3 separate regions of the Homo sapiens genome follow, and regions 1 and 2 are each linked to region 3. The links are contacts of gene promoters, found by promoter capture Hi-C in blood cells and fetal thymus (Javierre and others, 2016). All regions are on one chromosome and are shown on one strand. The core of a region is centred on a gene start or on the middle of the fragment in contact, and the rest is flanking DNA. Distances in the headings are between cores, read along the strand shown. Region 1 overlaps SCYL3 (SCY1 like pseudokinase 3). Region 2 overlaps KIFAP3 (kinesin associated protein 3). Region 3 holds the start of COP1 (COP1 E3 ubiquitin ligase).

The links. The method cuts DNA at HindIII sites, captures the fragments that hold promoters and counts their contacts. A CHiCAGO score of 5 or more calls a contact.
Region 1: a fragment that was not itself captured here is called in contact with the fragment with the promoter of COP1 in region 3 in 1 of 17 cell types (naive B cells); the score reaches 6.0 in naive B cells.
Region 2: a fragment that was not itself captured here is called in contact with the fragment with the promoter of COP1 in region 3 in 1 of 17 cell types (non-activated CD4 T cells); the score reaches 7.1 in non-activated CD4 T cells.

The regions. Positions count from the first base shown.
Region 1 is chr1:169,885,687-169,888,634 of GRCh38, forward strand. All of the region lies in intron 2 of SCYL3 (SCY1 like pseudokinase 3), which reads right to left. Among named protein-coding and RNA genes, the nearest start is that of SCYL3, 6.7 kb to the right of the region's middle. The HindIII fragment of the contact is 683 bases long and covers 913-1,595 here.
Region 2 is chr1:170,068,668-170,071,367 of GRCh38, forward strand. All of the region lies in intron 1 of KIFAP3 (kinesin associated protein 3), which reads right to left. Among named protein-coding and RNA genes, the nearest start is that of KIFAP3, 4.7 kb to the right of the region's middle. The HindIII fragment of the contact is 677 bases long and covers 1,064-1,740 here.
Region 3 is chr1:176,205,967-176,208,946 of GRCh38, forward strand. COP1 (COP1 E3 ubiquitin ligase) reads right to left here and starts at 1,320. Exons shown (of 20, transcript NM_022457.7): 1 at 606-1,320. The coding sequence starts at 1,012. It overlaps COP1-DT (COP1 divergent transcript), which reads left to right and starts at 1,699. Exons shown (of 5, transcript NR_185981.1): 1 at 1,699-1,905. RefSeq lists silencers at 758-1,117, 1,148-1,357 and an enhancer at 1,858-1,927. The HindIII fragment of the contact is 7,879 bases long and covers 178-2,980 here.

The DNA.
Region 1 (2,948 bases), core at 4-2,503, 6.3 Mb before region 3:
TCTGTAGAGCTTGCATTTGAGGTACTGATAAAACTTTTAGGTGGAAATGTTCAATAGGTAAGTGAAAATATAGATCTGGAGCTCAGACTAGAGATTTTGGCAGATAATTAGTTTAGAATGGCAGGTTGGATGGTTATTAACATCCAAGGAAAAAGGAGAGCGTGAAGTCTGCAAGGTGTGGTGGGGAGCAAGTAGCTGGCCATTCCATCTGGTGGGTCCATCATACCTGAGGCATGGGGGATACTTCTGAAGTTCTTCTGAGTGGATAGTGCCCAGAAGCCACGTAAGAGCACTGGATTCTGATTATGAAGGGCAAAAAATAATTTCTTAAAAAGTCAACCATGGGCCAGGTACGGTGGCTCATGCCTGTAATCCCAGCACTTTGAGAGGCTGAGGAAGGCGGATCACGAGGTCGAGAGGTAGAGGCTATCCTGGCCAACATGGTGAAACCCCACCTCTACTAAAAATTCAAAAATGAGCTGGGTGTGTCGGCGCGTGCCTGTAATCCCAGCTACGTGGGATGCTGAGGCAGGAGAATCACTTCAACCCGGGAGGCAGAGGTTGCAGTGAGCCAAGATCGAACCACTGCACTCTAGCCTGGGAAACAGAGTGAGACTACATCTCAAAAAAAAAAGTCAGTATGAGAGAGGAGAACAGCTTTCTCCAATTAGAATGCAAGCTCTTTTGGGCATAGCCATCATCTCTTCCATTTCTTGTTATGCCCACACAATGTGCATTCTTAAATAACATTGACTAACCCTTCCACAACAGCCCAAATTCATTATGGGGAAGAGCATAATGACTCCAACAATACTAAATAGAGCACTTATATAGCATCTACATACCACTCTTAGAGTCCAATGTGATTCCTGGCATAAAGACACTCAAGAATCATTTTTATAAGCTTTAATAAGCTTACCACAAAGCCCTAACTAAACACTTAGATTACAGCAAACTACAGCAACCAAATTCGGGCTTAGAATTTATCACTGTTTATAGGCTTACATATATGAGTCATCATCATCAGTTAGCAAATTATACTGTTAATTATAGCTGATGAATTCAATGTAAAATGAGATGGTCAGATAGAACTAAGTATTTCTCACATTATTTTGTGGCCAGAGCTTATACCTGCATTTCATCTTGGTGTATACTAGGATTGTTGTTTTTTACTTGTAACAGTGAAGAAAGTGTATATTGTTATCCAGTAACAGAAAACACTATATATCTGCTTGAAATAATCGTTAAAACTACCAAAGGTGTGACCAACAACCCAAACTCTAGAGAAAGTGAGGCAAGCTAAATATATTGTTTTAGTATTTCAGATACCTAGGACATCAAATTCCTAAAATCTAGCACATCGAATGCCATACATTTCTCAAGTGCTATGACCTAGTTTTTTAAGATTATGAGAAACATTCTGAGAATCTAAAGTTATCACTTTGTTGCAATTTCAAATTTCCCAAATTCATATATGAGGTTTTCAAAGCCACAGAATGGCTTAACAAGAGACAAAGATGAACTATGTGCAAAGACTCAGACATGGCTTAAAAGGGTATCTATGAATATTAAGGGGGAATAAGTCTTCCCTCTCAAGCTTCGCAATTCCTTCAGCACAGAAGTCCTCAAAAATGGAGAGTGGTCTTGCTGTTTTTTCCTTTAAAAACTCGATCTAGGTTATTCAATTTTCTTGGTACGTGCACCATAAAGTGTAACACAATTTTAAAAAAATCTTATAAAGAAAAAAATACTAAGAAAGATAAGTCTCTAGTACCTCGCCGATAATAGTTTATTAAAAAAAATGCACAATCTTATTAGATGAAAATAACAGGAGGCATGTTAGACATTAACTGTAAGAACAAGAAAGCGAAGTAAGGCATTTTGTCTTTTGTAAAATCACAATAAAAAATTCTTAACAATACCTAGATGATGTAAAAAAAGAGTCAAAAATGTGGTTCTACCAAAAAGCAAAATTACCTAGCAAGAAAACAGCCAGCTATATACTTTTTACCACCACGCATCTCGAGAGAACTGTTACCCATCTTTTTCTTTAGGAACCATCTTATAACAATTTCATGCTTGATCAAAAATACAACATCAAATAAATTACTGTTGTGAAGACCAAAATTCCATTACTAATATAATCCTTTATAATCATTTTAAAAAAATAAAAACAATTTAGAGTCCTATGAAACAGACATCAATGTTCCATACCTGTTGATAACTAAGGGACTCAAGGTAATAGAGATTATAATTCTAACAAAATCAAGATATCAAGTTCAACTTGAAAATAGCATGCCTACCAGAATAAACACTGGAGAATTAATTTACTAATACAATTACATTTTCCATTTTAGAAGATGATATATCTGAATTCCTAAATTTCCAAAGTGCTAGCTATCCAAAGAAGCATCAACTAATGCCTTCATTTTCCCTAATTCAAAAAGACACTTGGGGTTATTTTATTGACTTACATTCCACAGTAAAATCATTTTTTCTGATAAGAGGCCAGGATCTCCTGAGTGTGTCAGACAGCATGCTAATGCACTGGCACCCTCTGCCTGGAGCAACAATTATAAGGCATGAACTACAAGGATCTTTTCCCTAAGGAGGAAGCTGAAGCCTCCAGAATGATGTCAATACTTAACTGCATTTTGCTAGACGAGATTAACTCCTTATATAGCTCCTTATATCTTATATTAGCTACATAAAAATGTCTCCCTAACTTTCTCACCAGAAAAATAAAATATGATGATAAAAGCCATTGTACTGAGTTTTATGATGTTTTTTGGCTACAGGTATGGTACCTGACCATGTCATGCAAATGGAAGATAGGCCCATGAAGTAAGAGCAATGTTTTGAAAGGACATAAATAAAATACTGGTCCTTATGATCTTACCTCCTTTGAACTTTACTAATTTCATATTTTTTTAAAAGAAAACAAGATA
Region 2 (2,700 bases), core at 152-2,651, 6.1 Mb before region 3:
TCAAAAACTTCCCAAATTAGACCAAAGACAAACTTACACATCCAAGAAGCTCAATGAAATTCAAAGATAAACTCAAACAGATCCACAATAAGACACTCTATACTGACGCTCTATTTAAAAAAATAAATAAAAGATTTTGAATTAATAACCTAATTTTACACCTTAAGGGGCTAGAAAAAGAAGAGCAAACAAAACCCCAAGCTAGCAGAAGGAAATAATAAAAAGCAGCAACAGAGACTAGAAAAAGAATAGAGAAAATGAAACCAAAGGTTAGTTCTTTGAAAAGATCAACAAACATTTTTGGAAAACTTTTAGTTAGACTGACTAAAAAAGAAAAGAAGAGACTCAAATTACTAAAATCAGAAATGAAAGTGGGACATTACTGCTGCTCTTTTGATGATTAAAAAATTACAAGAGAATAATATGAACACCAACAAATTGGATAACCTACATGAAAAAGAATAATTCCTAGAAACACACAAACTACCAAAACTGACTCAAAAGACACAGAAAATCTGAACAGAATTAGAAGTAAGGTGATTGAATCAGTAATCATAAACCTTTCAACAAGTCCAGTACCAGATGGCTTCACTGGTGAATTCTACCAAGCATTTAAAGACAAATTAACATAAATACCCCTCAAACTCTTCCAAAAGATATAACAGTAGAGGAAACACTTCCTAATTCATTCCATGAGGCCACCATTACCCTGATACCAAAGCAAGACAAAGACACTACAGGAAAACCTTTAGACCAATACCCTTTATGAATGTCGATGTGAAAATCCTCAAAATACTAGCAAACAGAATACAGGAGTATATTAAAAGGACCACGCAACATGGCCACATGGGCATTTCAATACAATACACCACATTAATGGAATGAAGAAAAAAAGTACATGATTATCTCAATCGATGCAGAAAAAAGCATCTGACAAAACCCAACATCTTTTCATGATAAAAGTACTTGATAAATTAGGAATAGAAGAAAAGTCCCTTAACATAATAAAGGGCATATATGAAAAATCTACAGCCAATATCATACTCAATGGTGAAAGAATGAAAGCTTTCCCCCTAAGATCAGGAACAAGACAAGAATGTTTATCCACTTTCCTGACTTCTATTCAACATAGTACTGGAAATTCTAGCCAGAGCAATGAGGCATGGGAAAAAAAAATAAAAAGGCATCCAGATTGAAAAAGAAGAAGTAAAATTATTTCTATCTGCAGAAGACATAATCTTATATATAGAAAATTCTAAAAATGGCACAAAAAACTGGCTAGAGCTAATAAATTCAGCAAAGTTGGAGAATAGATCAGAACACACCAAAAAAATCCACTGTTTTTCTACATATTGGAGCTGAAAAATATGAAAAGGAAATTTAGAAAACTTCATTTCCAATAGCATCAAAAAGAATAAAATACTCAGGAGTAAACGTAACCAAGGAACAACTGTATACTGAAAACAAAAAGTTGCTGAAAGAAATTAATATGAACTAAATGAAAAGAAATCACATGTTCATGGACTGAAGGACTTAATATTGTTAAGATGGCAATATTCCCCAAAGTGATCTATAGATTCATTATATTCCCAAAGTTTCAATAGCTTTTTTTGCAGAAATGAAAAAGCCAACCCTAAAATTCAAATGGAAATATAAGGAACCCTAAATAGCTGAAACAACCTTGAAAAAGAACAACAAAGTTGGAGGACTCACACTTCTGGATTTCAAAACTCACTACAAAGCTTCAGTAATCAAAACAGTGAGGTACTAGCACACGGACAGATAGATCAATGAAATATAATTGAGAGTGCAGGAATAAACCCCAACATTTTTGGTCATTTAATTTTCAAAAAAATTGCCCAAACCATTCATGGAGGAAAAGAACAGTCAATTGTTCTTTTCTGACATTTGTTCTGACAAATGATGTCAGAACAACTAGATAGTCACATATAAAAGAATGAAGATGGACCCTTGCCATATACCATAGACAATAACTAACTCGAGATGGATCAAGGATATTAAATGTAAAAGCTAAAACTGTAAAACTCTTAGAAGAAAACAGAGGGACAAACCTTCATGACCTTGGATTTAGCAGTGGTTTCTTAAATAACGATGCCAAAAGCATGAGCAACAAAAGAATAAATTAGACTTCACCAAAATTAAAAATGTTTGCATATGAAAGTTTTACATACCAAGATAGTGCAAAGAAAACCCACAGAATGGGACAAAGTATCTGTAAATCATGTATCTGACAAGGTTCTATTACAAAGAACTCCTTTTCCCAAAGAATAAAGACAAATGGCCAAGAAGCACATGAAAAGCTCAATGTCATTAGTAATTAGGGAAAGGCAAATCAATACCAAAATAAGATACCATTTGATATCCACTAGTATAGTAATAATTACAGAACAGAAAATAACAGGTGTTAGTGAGGATACGGAAAACTGAATTCTTATACATTGCTGGTGGGAATGTAAAATGGTGCAGTCACTAGGGAAAACACTTTAGTGGTTCCTCAATGAATTAAACATAGAATTACCATATGGTCTGGCAATTCCAGGCCTAGGTATACACCAAAAGATACAAAACAAGTGTTCAAACAAAAACTTGTACAGTAATGTTCACAGCAGCTTTATTCCCAATAGCCAATAGGTAGAAACAACCCAAATGTCCACCACCAGATGAGCAATAAACAAACAA
Region 3 (2,980 bases), core at 70-2,569:
CCGATTCCTAAGTGGCCCATCCTTTGAAATGGAAGAAGATATTTACACATACATACGATAGGTACTTACATTATTATAAAAAGCATGTCTTTATAAGACATCCATGCTTATGTTTACAGCATCATCTACCATACTTCAAATAAATTTTGACCAACTCCACCCCTCTGCATCCGAGGAAGCTTAGTCCTCTCCATTTGCAAATTTCATTCATCTCAACAAGGACTCCTGATTGACTGAGTGTTCAATTCATCAGAGAGGCAAAAATTTTAAGACTCAACCTCTCTGCCAACTTTGTTATCCAAAACCATTTATTTGACCTTCCACCTCTTCCCTCGTCATTCGTTAAACTCCCTTCACTTCCTCCTCAGCAACACTTACCTACCTCTTTATTATCCCCACCCTGCCTCGCTACTCCAACATTCCTTCACCCCACCAACCAGGAGCTCGAATGCCTGCAAACGCTCGATTCCCTCTGCAGACACCACCACAGCACCAGTATCCCAAGCTCTCCAACAAGCCACCCCCACACCAGACCCCCCGCCCCCAAGCCTAAGCGGCAGAAACTCATAATTTAGGGACAAGGAGGGAGTGCTCTTCAAACCCACCATACGAAGTCGTTGCTTTTGTCCTCGTAGGAGTTGATGAGCCCGTTGCAGAGGGGGGCGAGGAGAGGTCGCTTCCTGCTGCCGCTGCCTAGGCTGGAGCTGCTGCCTCCTACGCCGGCGCTGGGCCTGGCCGCGCAGCTGTGCCGGGACAGGCCCGTGGACACCGCCCCGCCGCCGCTACCCGATACGGCGGGCGCCACCAACACAGGCCGCACCGGGCCCCCGAGGCCGCCCGAGCCGGCGGCCTGGGCCACCCCGCCGGACACCAGCGCTGCCGCCGAAACCGCCACGGAAGGCGGCGACGGGGAAGAGGATAAAGACGAGGAGGCGGAAGTCACCGAGGAGGCCGCCGAGGACCCGGGGCTTGTCCCAGCGGAGCCCGACCCGGCCTGGCGGCTACCAGACATCGTGACTCCCTCCCCTCCAGCCGGGCGCTCGGAGGAGAGGGACCGCGACCTCGACCCTCCGCCGCCTCCCCTCCCCTCAGCCTCAGTGCATCCTGAGGACGCCCGCCGAGCCGGAGGTGGGGCTGAGGAACAATAAAGTTGCGTTTTTTTTTAAGGCAGCCACACAACAGCGTCCCACGGGAGGGGGCGGAGGAAACTAAAAAAGCGGAGTAGAAGGCACTACCGCTGTCGAGGCCGCCGCCGCCACCGCGGTCCCTGTAGCAGCCAACCCCGGCGCGCCGTGGCCGGCCGTGCGCGCGCGCGCGAGCGGCGGAAGAGGCGGGCGTGGCGGGGGATACAACTGGGGACGCAGCGGGGCTGCGCTCAGACGCTCAGGGCGCGCCCTCGGGGTCGGGGCTCCCTGGCGAAGGGAGTCTGTCTGTCCCAAGCCGCTTTCGTTCCAGAAAACGTGCCAGAGGGCAGGCCGTCTTAATACAGTGAAAGAATTGAGGAGACTGGAATGAATGGTATAGGTGGTGGGGTGGTTTGAAAGACGGGAACGTAGCGGGCGGAAACTCTCGAAAAGCGACTGCGCAGGCGCGCGCCGGGCGCGGACGCTCACGGGTCACCCAGGGTATCCGCCCCAAGCGGAGAATATCGGCGCAAGCGCGGAGTAGCCGTGTCACGCATGCGTGCGAACGCACCACATTCCGGAACGGGAAGAAGGAGCTGTCTCTCTCTTCTGAGGGGTAGGCAGGTGCTTCCGAATCGCGGAATGTAGGTGCTCATAAGCTGGAGACCCACGGAAAGAACCTAGAAGCTCCGAGCGGTTGCAGACAGCACTGCATTGAGCCAACGACTCCTGCTCTACTGATGGTGATTCCACAGCTTTGTGAGGAATAAGTTAAGATGAAGTCAGTGAAGTTTTCTGCGAATTGCAAACATTGTAGCAAGTGTTACCAATTTTATTAGTTCGACCACGACTTCACTCCTATATTTTGAAAAGCTGTTTGCCAAATTGAACATAACAATAATGGGAAAACAGATTTTGCTCAATCAGACCCAGCTCAGTCGGAACCTAGGTTTATTGTGGATCTGATATAATTCTAGCACAAAACAAGGAAACCTAGCATTTAATACCACCAGAAAATATACAATTTCTGGTAGGCTTTTTTAGAATATTGAAAATTGATTATAGGCGGGCGCGGTGGCTCATGCCTGTCATCGCAGCACCTTGGGAGGCCTAGGGGGTCGGATCACCTGAGCCTGGAGGTGAGGATCAGGCTGAACCTGAGGTTAGAGACCAGCCTGGGCAAGATAGCGAAACCCCGTCTCTACAAAAAGTACAAAAAATTAGCTGGGCATGGTGGCAGCAGGCCTGTAGTCCCAGCTACTCGGGAGGCTGACATGGGAGGATTGCTTGAGCTGGGGAGGTTGAGGCTGTAGGGAGCGGAGATCCCTACACTCCAGCCTGTGAGACAGAGACCCTGTCTCAAAAAAAAAAATTTTTTTCATTTGCCGCATTCTAAGGGGTGGGAGTTAGAAACAACTGTGTGATTTTATCCTTTTCAATTCTATCATTCTATGATTCTTATATATTTATTTGGGAATAAAGTGTGAAAATACTCATGACTTAGTAAACTACGTGCGTATTCAAGGAGGTAAAGGAAGGCAAAGGTTTTTAAAATTTAAAAAAAAATGAGAATTACATAATTGTTTTTAAACCGTTATCCTTGGCTACGAAGATCAATAACAAGGTGACACCAGTCGGAAACTGGACAGGAAGTTGCTGGGCAGATGTTTTTGCGGAAGTATTTTTTGTGTAAGATTGTGGCTTTTGGCCAGGTGCGGTGGCTGAGGCCCATAATTCCAACACTTTGGGAGGCCAAGGCGAGTGGATCACCTGAGGTCAGGAGTTCGAGACCAGCCTGGCCAACATGACGAAACCCTGTCCCTACTAAAAATACAAAAATTAACCGGGTGTGGTGG